Linked DNA regions of Homo sapiens: region 2 is linked to region 1. Evidence: promoter capture Hi-C in 16 types of primary human blood cells and fetal thymus (Javierre and others, 2016). All regions are on one chromosome and are shown on one strand. The core of a region is centred on a gene start or on the middle of the fragment in contact, and the rest is flanking DNA. Distances in the headings are between cores, read along the strand shown.

Region 1 (6,153 bases), core at 3,654-6,153:
CCTGGCTACTTTTTTGTATTTTAGTAGAGACAGAGTTTCACCACGTTGCCCAGGCTGGTCTCGAACTCCTGAGCTCAGGCAATCTGCCCGCCTCAGCCTCCCAAAGGGCTAGGATTACAAGCATGAGCCATTGTGCCCAGCCAAATCTAGAAAGTTTTAAAATGATGTAACTGTTCCCTGATGGCAAAAATCCAAAACCAATACTTCAAAACTTATGGAATGTCACACGCCTATTAGATGGAATATTTAGCATTATCCTTTGTATTTTCATCAATTAATAAACACAATTTGGACAATAATTCCAGTTGAATTTCATGAGTTTGGCTTCATCAAATTATGTTTTGTATGGCAGTAGTGTCTTCAACTCAGAAATTTGACATTTGGCGAATGGATGGATTAATCGATAGATGGACAGATACATGAGTGAATAAATAGACAAGGATGCTTAACAATGTTCTAAATGCTTAAACATTGCATCTTTAAAAAAATTTGGCCAGGCACAGTGGCTCACACATGTAATCCTAGCACTTCTGGAAGCTGAGGTGGGAGGATTGCCTGAGTCCAGGAGTTCAAGACCAGCTTCAGCAACATAGTGAGACCTGGTCTCTACAAAAAGTTTTTAAAAAATTAGCTGAGCATGGTGATGCATGCCTGTAGTCCCAGCTACTCAGAAGGCTGAGGTGGATCACTTGAGCCAAGGAGGCAGAGGTTGCAGTGAGCCAAGATCGTGCCACTGCATTCTAGCCTGGGTGACAGAGCACGACCCTGTCCCCCCAACCAAAAAAAAAAAAAAAAAATTCAGTGTTTTCTAGTTTGTTGGGTAATAAAGTATGACTCAGGTGAAAATTGTGAGATATTTTATTTTTTAATTGACAAATAACAATTGTATATATTTATGATGTACCACATGATGTTCTGACATATGTATACATTCTAGAATGGGTAAATTGAGCTAATTAACATATGCATTACCTCTACATATTTTTCATTATTTTTGTGTGGTGAGAACACTTAAAATCTACTCTCTTAGCAATTTTCATTTACAGTATGTTGTTACTGAACTGTCATCATCACGGTGTGTGAAAGTTTTTGACTCCATAGACTAAATAAATAACTTCAAGCAAGTCATCAAAGTCATTATAGCACCAGTTTCTTCATCTGAGGATTAAACGACGTCTAGCACCCTGCCTAATACATGTTAAACAGCCAGCATATTTTAAAGTGCCTTCAAAATATAGACAAAAAGCAACACAATACAATACAAAAACATATACGATATAAAATGTCTTGCTCTCTCCTTTTTTTTTTTTTTTTTTTTTTTTTTAGAGATGAGGTCTCACTATATTGCCAAGGCTCGTCTTGAACTCCTGGGCCCTAGTGATCTTCCTGCCTCAGCTTCCCAAAGCGTTGAAATTACTGGCATGAGCCACCTTGCCCAGCTGAAATAAGTTTCTTTCCATAAAGTTCTCTGCTATCACTATTATTATTAGAGATCTCCAAGTAAAATTAAGATTTTGCTGTTGATGAAGAAAAGGTTTACAAACCAGTAGATAACATTGTTTTCTTCAGAACCTTTACTGGAAAAGGGTCCTGATTCAGACCCCAAGAGAGGGTTTTTGGATCTCATGCAAGAAAGAATTCCGGGCGAATCCATAGAGTAAAGTGAAAGCAAGTTTGGTAAGAAAGGGCCGAGCGAGGTGGTTCATGCTTGTAATCCAGCACCTTGAGAGTCCGACCGAGGCGGGCGGATCACTTGAGGCCAGGAGTTCCAGACCAGCCTGGTGAACATGGCGAAACCCCGACTCTACTAAAAATGCAAAAAATAGCAGGGTGTTGTGGCGTAGGCCTGTAATCCCAGCTTCCTGGGAGGCTGAGGCACAAGAATTGCTTGAACCTAGGAGGCAGAGGTTGCAGTGAGACGAGCTTGCACCCCCACTGCACTCCAGCCTGGGCGTCAGAGCAAGACTGTCAAAAAAAAAAAAAAAAAAAAAAAAAAAGAAGGAAAGGAATAAAGAATGGCTACTCCATAGACAGAGCAGCGGCATGGGCCGCCGGTTGCCCATTTTTATGGTTATTTCTTGATCATATGCTAAACAAAGGGTGGATTATTCATGAGTTTCCGGGAAAGGGGCGGGCAATTCCCGGAACTGAGGGTTCCTCCCCCTCTTAGACCATACAGGGTAACTTCCTGACGGTTGCCATGGCATCTGTAAAATGTAAACTGCTTTGGCATTGGTGGGAGTGTCTTTTAGCATGCTAATGTATTATAATTAAGTTACAATAAGCAGTGAGGACGACCAGAGGTCACTCTCCTGGCCATCTTGGTTTTGCTGGGTTTTTGCCGGCTTCTTTACTGCGCCCTGTTTTATCAGCAAGGTCTTTATGGCCTGTATCTTGTGCTGACCTCCTATCTCACCCTGTTGACTTAGAATGTCTTCACCTCCTGGGAATGCAGCCCAGTAGGTCTCAGCCTTATTTTACCCAGTCCCTATCCAAGATGGAGTCGCTCTGGTTCAAATGCCTCTGACAGAACCGTGTGAAATAACACAAATATTCTGGCTAAATTCCAGTGTGAGTGATTAACATTCTCCAACTTCAAATAATTTTTATTATTAGCCAACACTTGTCCATCCCCAGTAATACACACGTTGCATAAAGAGCACAGAATGAGATGGGCCTCCCTTGGCATGTTCATAGTCTGCACATACTTTCCACTGAGGGCTTCCCTTTCTTGCTCACTGCTATGCCCACAGCTTTTCAACTCCCACTATTTTCAACCCTGGGATGCTTCCTGACCCAGAGTGGCAAGTAATTCCAAAACACAAGAGATAAAATATGAACACCTGTAGAATTCCAGAGAAAGAAAGATGTAAGGTATATTTATTCATTTATTTAATTATGTATTTTAGAGTTGGGGGTCTTGCTATGTTGCTCAGGCTGGTCTGCAAACTCCTGGGTTCAAGCCATCCTCCCACCTCAGCCTCCCAAAGTGTTAGGATTACAGGCGTGAGCTATGGCGCCCGGCCTTTTAAACGTTTATTAATAGTTTTGATATCCGCGAAGTGATTGATATTTGTTCCTTTTTAACTTGGAGGCTGGGATTAACACACGTGTTCTTCATTATTGCCCACAAAGCGTTGTTGATACGCAGGAGGGGAGTGGCACTTCCGCAATTTATTCTTCCAACCTGTGCCAATGGGATCCAGCACAGGAGATGGACAGTAACCCGCGGTTGATCTGGATCTAGTCCAGTTAGTCCAGTCCCTATCCCTTCAAGTGTCCCCAGGCCCTCTTGCCTATTTTCGCCCTTTGCCCAGTGGAAGGAAAAGTTTGGGGAGAAGGAAAAAATTTAAACCCTCTTCCTAGGCGTGTGAATGTATTTCAAGTATGCTAAATACCTCAGTCTTCCAATCTAATTACAACACATAGAAAAGAGGCATTTTTAGGACATTTAAAACTTGTAGCATAATTGCGCAACTGAAGAGCGCCGCCGTGTCCCCGCCATCGGTGCGCCCTCCGACCCCCCGCGGCGCGCAAGTGCGCGGCTTAGCAGCAGGCAGCCGGGGACGGAAGGGCACGGGGAGGCCGGCGCCCTGCCCAGCACAGAACCCTGGGTCGGTATCGCTTCTCTCTGCGGGCGACTTCGGAACTGCCTGGGATTATAAACCTCGACCAATAAAGGACTCACATCTTTCTGGGTCTTCTAAAGGCAGAAAGAAATCCATTTTCTTGTCACAACAAGATTTTGTTAAGAGATGCAAAAGTAAAGGTCGAAGCCAGGGAGGCTGCGATAGTATGGGGGGAGGGGCGGCTACGATGGTGAGTGCCGCTGACCAACTACCTGGGTTCGAATCCCAGGGTTGCCATTTGGGCGGCTACTATGTGCCAGGTGATCGGAATACGGAGGTGAACTTGCTTGCCGAGGTCGCCCTTTCTTGGGGGAACTATGATTAGCTCGGTTGCCTTGGCCAAGTCTCAGTCTCGGTTTCTTCACCTGTAGGAAGTACCTGCCTCAGAATTGTTGTAAGGAGTGAGATCTTGTCTTAAGATGTAAACGGGCCGGGCGCGGTGGCTCACACCTGTAATCCCAGCATTTTGGGAGGCCGAGGCGGGCAGATCACGGTGTCAGGAGTTCGAGAACAGCCTTACATGGTGAAAGCCCGTCTCTACCAAAAATACAAAAATTAGCTGGGCGTGGTGGCGGGCGCCAGTAATCCCAGCTACGCAGGAGGCTGAGGCAGGATAATCGCTTGAACCCGGGAGACAGAGGTTGCAGTGAGCCGAGATCGCGCCACTGCACTCCAGCCTGGGAGACAGAACAACTCGTCTCAAAAAAAAAAAAAAAAAAAAAGGATGTAACCGATTAACACTTTGTTGGGCACACAGTAAAGGGCTCAGTAAGTATCCTCTCTTCTTTCACACAGTTCCAAGACAGCTCGGAAGGGAGACAGCCACGCCTAAGAGTGATTCCTTGAGCAGTTCTTTCAAAGAAGCACTGAACTCTGTAAGGACGCTTAGCTGCAGGCAGAAAGGGCAGGGGCCCTGGGAGCAAAGGTGCATAAGCCAGGAAGTTACAGGAGCGAGTCCTGCACCCAGGGCGCGGGCAGAGAACTCCGGAGGGACTTCTGGCAAGGGCTTCCCGCCCGGGTGCCCAGAGCGGCATGATTAGCATTCGCCCCGCCCCCATCTCCTCCAGGCCCGCGATTGGTCAGCGCTCCTTGGCTGCCCGCTCCTGGCGGGGCCAGAGGGCGCCGGGGGAAAGGCCGAGCCCGCGGGGCAGTGGGCGGGGACGCGCGGAGAGCTTGGCGAGGCGGCCCACCAACCGCGCCCGGGCCTGAGGGGGCGGAGCCGGGGCGGGGCTTCCCGGCGGGCATTAGAAGCAGGTGACCCGGGCGGGGCGGGAGAGGGCAGCCAGCCTGCGGCCGTGAGTCCGCTGTGGTCGCCGCCGCGCGCGGTTCCGTGCTCGCCAGAGGTGGGCGAAAGGGTGCGAGAGCGCGGGGGAGGAGCCGAGCAGGGCACGTCCCGAGAGCGTCGCCACCGCCCCCAGGAGTCCACTGGAGCGCGGAGCCCCCTGCAGGGGAGGAGGCGAGCGGCGGGCGGGACGCGGCGGCCGGCGCTCACCATGCAGTCCCGGCCTGGCCAGCGCCGGCTGCTCGCGGTGCTGTGAGGCGGCGGGGTCCCACGGCCCCCGCCTCCCGCCTTCCTCCCGCCCAGGTGCTGCCAGGCGCGCTCGCCCTCCGTCCGGCTCCCGGCCCCGGGGAGAACGCACGGCCTGCCCCTGCCCGGCTCCGTCTGGATCATGCGGGGGGCTCCCGAGGAGGAGAGGGCGAGTGACCGGCCTGCGCCGCCCCTGTTCTGGGGGCGCCCCCCACTCTGAGTCGCCCCCACCTGCTGCCATGTGCCGCTGCCACGGGTACCCAGCCTGTCGCTAAACTTTCCGGGCGCCAGCCCGGCTCTGAGTCGCGCTTCTCAGCGGAGTGACCCAGGGACGGAGGACCCAGGCTGGCTGGGGACTGTCTGCTCTTCTCGGCGGGATCCGTGGAGGTGAGAACCTTCCCTTTCTCCCTGTTCTTCTCCCGTTTCCTGTGCCCTTTTCCGGGAAGCTGAGGGTTCTGGTCTCCGGGCACTGCCTGAAGGGCCCAGCTTGGAAAGAGAGGGTGGGGGAGTCGGTAGTTTGGTTACAGGAGGCGGAGCGGGGAGGAAAGGAAAGGGGTTAACTTAAGAGATTTGGAGACAGCTCGCGGGGACCGAACTGTTGACGCCTCTCCAACAGGGAGTGGTTGCAATCTTTCTTCTCCCCCTTCTTTTTTAAAGAGTCCTTTCCCTGGAATCCGAGCCCTAACCGTCTCTCCCCAGCCCTATCCGGCGAGGAGCGGAGCGCTGCCAGCGGAGGCAGCGCCTTCCCGAAGCAGTTTATCTTTGGACGGTTTTCTTTAAAGGAAAAAGCAACCAACAGGTTGCCAGCCCCGGCGCCACACACGAGACGCCGGAGGGAGAAGCCCCGGCCCGGATTCCTCTGCCTGTGTGCGTCCCTCGCGGGCTGCTGGAGGCGAGGGGAGGGAGGGGGCGATGGCTCGGCCTGACCCATCCGCGCCGCCCTCGCTGTTGCTGCTGCTCCTAGCGCAGCTGGTGGGCCGGGCGGCCGCCGCGTCC
Region 2 (6,153 bases), core at 1,069-3,568, 71 kb before region 1:
CTGCACTCCAGCCTGGGTGATGGAATGAGACCCTGTCTCAATAAAACAGAAAAAGCTTAGTTCTTACTTAGCACAGCTCGATGCTTCCGCCTAAGAAGCTCACATTGGCTCCCAATGTGACTGTTGCTCCCTTTGAGAGATTCCTTTGCTGAAATACTACTATTTAGCCTTCTCTATCATATTTCTGTCTTATGAGTATGTGTGGTGTTGAAAAAAATAAGGTTTTCAGTGACTTCTTACATATCAGCTTATGGCTTGTGTACGCAGCAGAACTATTCTTATTATTGTGACTATCGGTTCCATCCAACATTTACCAATACGCAGAATGGAAACAGAAGTTCCAACGAATGTTCTCACTGAATGAAAGGGACTGCTAAAACATGCTTTGCTGTTCAGGCCTTCCCTCCTTCTTCCCTCCTTCAATGTTAATATATATCAGGCTGAAAGCATTATTGCAGTATTTTTCCAAGGTAATACATCTTTGGTTCATGCAAAGTAGAGTAATTTTAATTATTAAAAGTTTATACATTATTAAACAATTGAACCATGTTTGCTAATTTTATAAACATGTAAACAATCAGTCTAATTAGTTTAACCCACCAAACTTGTACAATGCCTTTATCCTTATATAAAAATGAAAAGCATCTGAGATGTTCAGAACGTCCAATATCTAAAGCCAGGATTAGTTCTTAACTACCTGAGGTGTTTATTATACAGGTGCATCTCATTTTAAATAAACCTTATAAATAAAACTATAATAAAAAGATGGGGGCCAGGCGCGGTGGCTCATGCCTGTAATCCCAGCACTTTGGGAGGCAGAGGCAGGCGGATCACGAGGTCAGATCGAGGCCATCCTGGCTAACACGGTGAAACCCCGTCTCTACTAAAAATACAAAAAATTAGCTGGGCGTGGTGGCGTGCGCCTATAGTCCCAGCTACTGGGGAGGCTGAGGCAGGAAAATGGCCTGAACCCGGGAGGCGGAGCTTGCAGTGAGCTGTGATCACACCACTGGACTCCAGCCTGGGTGACAGAGAGAGACTCCGTCTCAAAAATAAAAATAAAAATAAAGATCGGGGCAGTAAACTTCCCTAGTATATTTAATATAGAATTATATAGAATTTAACTTCTCAAAGTTTTATGTACATGAAGGGAGACTGTTTCTATCAGATATAAAAATGTATTGTAAAACAATATAATGGGAATAAGGATACAAAGATCACTAGAACAAGAGTCAAAAAGATTCAGAAAGTATGGAAATAGACCCAAGTAATATGGGAATTTAATACATGGTAAAGGTGGCATAGCAAATTGGTGGAACAAAAAAAGTATTATTCCATATTAGGAATTGGGAACTAATTAGCCATTTGGAAAAAGAAAAATAATGCTGCCCATACACCTTACATCAAGATAAATTCTAAGTGGATCAAATATTTTAATGTAAAATAAATAAAGCCCACAGAGTACTAGAAATGTACTAGAAAGAAATGGTGGTGAATATATATATATATATATATATATATATTTTTTTTTTTTTTTTTTTTTTTTTTTTTTTTTGAGATGGAGTCTCGCTGTGTCACCCGGGCTGGAGTGCAATGGCGTGATCTCGGCCTCCCAGGTTGAAGCGATTATCGCGCCTCAGCCTCCCAAATAGCTGGGATCACAAGTGAACATCACCAAGCCCGGCTGATTTTTGTATTTTTAGTAGAGATGGGGTTTCACCATGTTGGTCAGGCTGGTCTTGAACCCCTGACCTCGTGATCTGCCCACCTCGGCCTCCCAAAGGGCTGGGATTACAGGCGTGAGCCACCGCGCCCAGTCTATTATTTTTATCATATTAAAGTGTGAAAGGACTTTCTAAGCCATGGAAGCAAAATGCTTTTAAATACGTAAAGAGTTGTCCGGGCGTCTGTAATCCCAGCACTTTGGGAAGCCAAAGCAGGTGGATCACTTGAGGTCAGGAGTTTGAGACCTGCCTGGCCAACATGGTGAAACCCTGTCTTTAAAATATAAAAATTAAAAATTAAAAATATAAAAATTAGCCAAGCATGGTGGCACACACGTGTAATCCCAGCCACCTGAGAGGCTAAGGCATGAGAATCACTTGAACCCAGGAGGCGGAGGTGGCAGTGAGCCGAGATCACACTACTGCACTCCAGCCTGGGTGACAGAGACTCTGTCTCAAAAAAAAAAAAAAAAAAAAAAACATAAAAAGTGTTAAATGCTTAAAATTCTATAGGTAAAGATAAACATAAACAGGAAACTTGGAGAAATAATTTCAACACATGACGAAGTATTGATTTCCTTAATATGAAAGATATATTTAAAAATTAGTAAAATATCAGTAGAAAATGGGCAGAGGACATGAACCAATTTACTGAAAGAATATGCAAATGGCCAAAAACTACATGAACAACTCCATATTACAATTAAAGCAAAATTAGATTTTAACCTATTAGTTATGAGAAGATATTAATAGATGTGAAAAGCCCTATATAAAAACACTAGTTGGCTGGGCATGGTGGCTCACACCTGTTATCACAACACATGGGGAGGCCAAGGCAGGAGATCCATTGAGGCCAGGAGTTTGAGACCAGCCTGGGCAACATAGCAGAAACTTGTCTCTGCAAAAACAATGGTTTTTTTAATTAGCCAGTCATGGTGGCACACACTTGTAGTCCTAGCTGTTAATACTTGGGAGGCTGAGGTGGGAGGATCCCTTGAGTCCAGCAGTTTGAGGCTGCAGTGAACTATGATCACACTTGCACTCCAGCCTGGGCAACAGCAAGACCCTGTCTCTAAAACAAAAAACAAAACCCACATTAGTTAATATCACCTCCTATTTTCGTTTTGCAAAGTCCATATTTTTGTTTTAAATATATTATATGAAAAATAAGAGCCCTGCTGTCTTTAGCAATGATTGACTTAGAAGTATAGTTCTCAAACTTCTGTGTTCATCAGAATTCCCAGGAGGACTTGTTAAAACACAGATTGCTGGGCCCCAGCCCAGAGTTTATGATTCACTAAGTCTAGAGGGAGACCCAATAATTAGCCTTTATTTTATTTATTTATTTATTTAGAGACAGGGTCTCACTCTGTTGCCCAGGCTGAAATGTAGTGGCACCATCACGGCTCACGGCAGCCTTGACCTCCCAGTCTCAAGCAATCTTCCTACTTCAGCCTCCCCAGTAGCTGGGACCGTAGGTGTGTACTACCATACCCAGCTAATTTTTTTCTGTTTTTGTAGAGATGGGATCTCCCTATGTTGCCCAGGTCCTGAACTCCTGGGCAGGATCATCCTGCCTCAGCCTCTCAAAAGTGCTGGAATTACAGGTGTGAGGCACTGTGCTGGCCACTAATTAGCCTTTCTAACAAATTCTCTAGTGATGCTGGCTTGGCTGCATCACATTTGGTCCAGGGACCACACTTTGAGCACCACCAGCCTAGAATAAATTGAGTATTGGAAAATTATGGTTACCATCTTTGAAGAGCATTGTCTTAGAGAGACAAATAGGAGAATAATCTAAAGTAATGGCAAAACACTTTAGGTCTTTTATTTAAATGCCTTTCTCCTAAATTTACATCAATAACCAGTAACTTATTCATAAGCAACTAATCACACTGCTCATAAAGTTAGATAGGGCTTATCTTCTAGACTTTTTGCATTTTCTAATGTACATTAGGTTAATGTACATTAATGTGCATTTTCTAATGTACATTAGATTCATGTACATTAATGTGCATTTTCTAATGTACCCATGCTTGACCTTTTTTTCATTTTGGTTGTACTTAGTGTCTTAGTCCTTTGAGGAACTGAAATGTCATGTGTTAAATACAAGTGAGTCCCATTCAGAGTCTTAGGTGCGTATCTTCCTGTTACATTATTATTTCTTTTTAAAAGGCTTACTTCAAAAACTTGGCAGGTAAATGTTTCAATTTTACATTAAGAAGGTAGACTGGTAAATCATGAGAAGTTCATATATAAACCAAGATCATTTGTTTGAATCTGCATTCGCCTAATAATCTCGTATTCACTCCCTTCATCTTAGATGTAGCAAGATAATTCTAAACACCCCTTTGGCTCTTAGGCATTTTAAACTACTTTAGGAATTTCTACAGAAAACCATTTATCTTGTTTATAGTTCTCTATGGCTACAATTATAATACAGTGTAGCTTTTTCCCAGAAATGGTAGAAATGTTTAAATCCTCCGTCAGTTCCTTTACTTTGTCTAATATTAAACAGATTTTTCCTAAATACCAAGGTGGGTATTTGTTTCTCGAGAATTATATTAATTACCAGATGAACCTTAAAATAAAAACTTAGAAGCATCAGAAATATCCATTTTCCCTATCCCAAGAAAACTGTTTCATCAAGGTCAAATCTATTATAATTTTATACACATACTTAGAATATAACTGAGAAGTTCAGTCACCATCCACAAGTTAGCAAGAAGCACTGATTAAGTGTTTGCACAAAAGATGGCAGTGAGTTAATGTCCCCAGTAGGGTAGCAAAATTAACAAATGAATTAATTAACCCTTATTTACATTCTATTTTAAAGCCAAGATTTAAGTAAAGCTTTTGTCAAAGGTATTTAGCTGAACTTGGTTTACAAACTAAAAGTGCAAATGCTTTGTGGGCTGCCATCAGGGAAAACCTCTCCTTAATTAACTCTGGGGCTTAAAGTGTAGATAAAAAGAGCATTGCAGGACATACCAATTGTTCTTCCCAGATTTGGGTCTTAGCAGGTATCTGGGCATGTGTTAACTTAAAGGACCAAGTTGCTAGTAATAGAAAAGGGGCCACATTCACATGAGAACCCTGGAATCAAATAGGCTTACTAGCTCTGGAACCAGATAAACCTCCAGTTATTATATTATATTATATCTATTATTTTCTTACTGACTGACTTAATAAAAATGGGAGAACTCGAGGCCGGGCGCGGTGGCTCACGCCTGTAATCCCAGCACTTTGGGAGGCCGAGGCGGGCGGATCACCTGATGTTGGGAGGTTGAGACCAGTCTGACCAACATGGAGAAACCCCATCTCTACTAAAAATACAAAAAATTAGCCGGGCGTGGTGGTGGGTGCCTGTAATCCCAGCTACTCGGGAGGCTGAGGCAGGAGAATCGCTTGAACCCGGGATATGGAGGTTGCAGTGAGCTGAGATCGCACCACTGCCCTCCAGCCTGGGCAACAGAGCAAGACTTAATCTCAAAAAAAAAAAAAAAAAAAAAAAAAAATGGAAGAACCGGCCAGGCGCCGTGGCTCACAGCTGTAATCCCAGCACTTTGGGAGGCCGAGGTGGGCAGATCACGAGGTCAGGAGAACAAGACCAGCCTGACTCCATCTCAAAAAAAAAAAAAAAAAAAGGGAGAACTATTGTAATTTTATTTTATTTTATTGAGATGAAGTGTCGCTCTGTCGCCCAGGCTGGAGTGCAGTGGTGCGATCTCAGCTCACTGCCACCTCTGCCTCCCAGGTTCAAGCAATTCTCCTGCCTCAGGCTCCCAAGTAGCCGGGACTACAGGCATTAGCCACCATGCCAGCTAATTTTTGTATTTTTAGTAGACACGGGGTTTCACCGTGTTGGCCAGGCTGGTCTCAAACTCCTGACCTTAGGCAATCTGCCTGCTTCAGCCTCCCAAAGTGCTGGAATTATGGCTTAATTTAGCTGGGCACAGCTAAATTAATCCTATTAATCATATTTAATTCATTTTACCTTAGAATGTCTAGTATCCTGTGTATGTCTATAAGTACATGCATAGCATATAGGCTCACATGGAAGCATAAACTATACATGATATTGGCTGATTTCCTATTCAAGCAAATTACAAATTGTTTGCTTATGTTTACTTACACAATAACAAATAAAACACCAACCCAAAACATTTAAATAACCAGGATCCAGTAACTACCCTCCTTAGCTAAGAGATTTAAGTAATCTTGGTTTTTTGGAAAAACCAGTAATAGCTAGTGGCTGTATGGGGGGCGTTGCATAGTAGCCATACGCAAAGCCGCACTCACATGCCTGATAACGTGCACTTATTTCTGAGCCCCACCCCATTCGTTGTGGGCTCTGCAGAGTGGAAACCAGCCAAGGCTCTGCCCTGCTCTGCAGGCCTGTCCTTTTGCTTGTCAGAGATGCAACCAA

What was found. The method cuts DNA at HindIII sites, captures the fragments that hold promoters and counts their contacts. A CHiCAGO score of 5 or more calls a contact.
Region 2: a fragment that was not itself captured here is called in contact with the fragment with the promoter of FZD5 in region 1 in 2 of 17 cell types (M1 macrophages and M2 macrophages); the score reaches 5.7 in M1 macrophages.

Annotation. Positions count from the first base shown.
Region 1 is chr2:207,768,656-207,774,808 of GRCh38, reverse strand. It overlaps FZD5 (frizzled class receptor 5), which reads left to right and starts at 4,903. Exons shown (of 2, transcript NM_003468.4): 1 at 4,903-5,544; 2 at 5,815-6,153. The coding sequence starts at 6,070. RefSeq lists silencers at 2,071-2,546, 4,603-5,282, 5,623-5,682, 6,093-6,152 and enhancers at 3,018-3,838, 4,003-4,052. The HindIII fragment of the contact is 9,976 bases long and covers 1-6,153 here.
Region 2 is chr2:207,836,851-207,843,003 of GRCh38, reverse strand. The region is part of intron 7 of PLEKHM3 (pleckstrin homology domain containing M3); the gene reads left to right. Among named protein-coding and RNA genes, the nearest start is that of FZD5, 70 kb to the right of the region's middle. The HindIII fragment of the contact is 4,522 bases long and covers 58-4,579 here.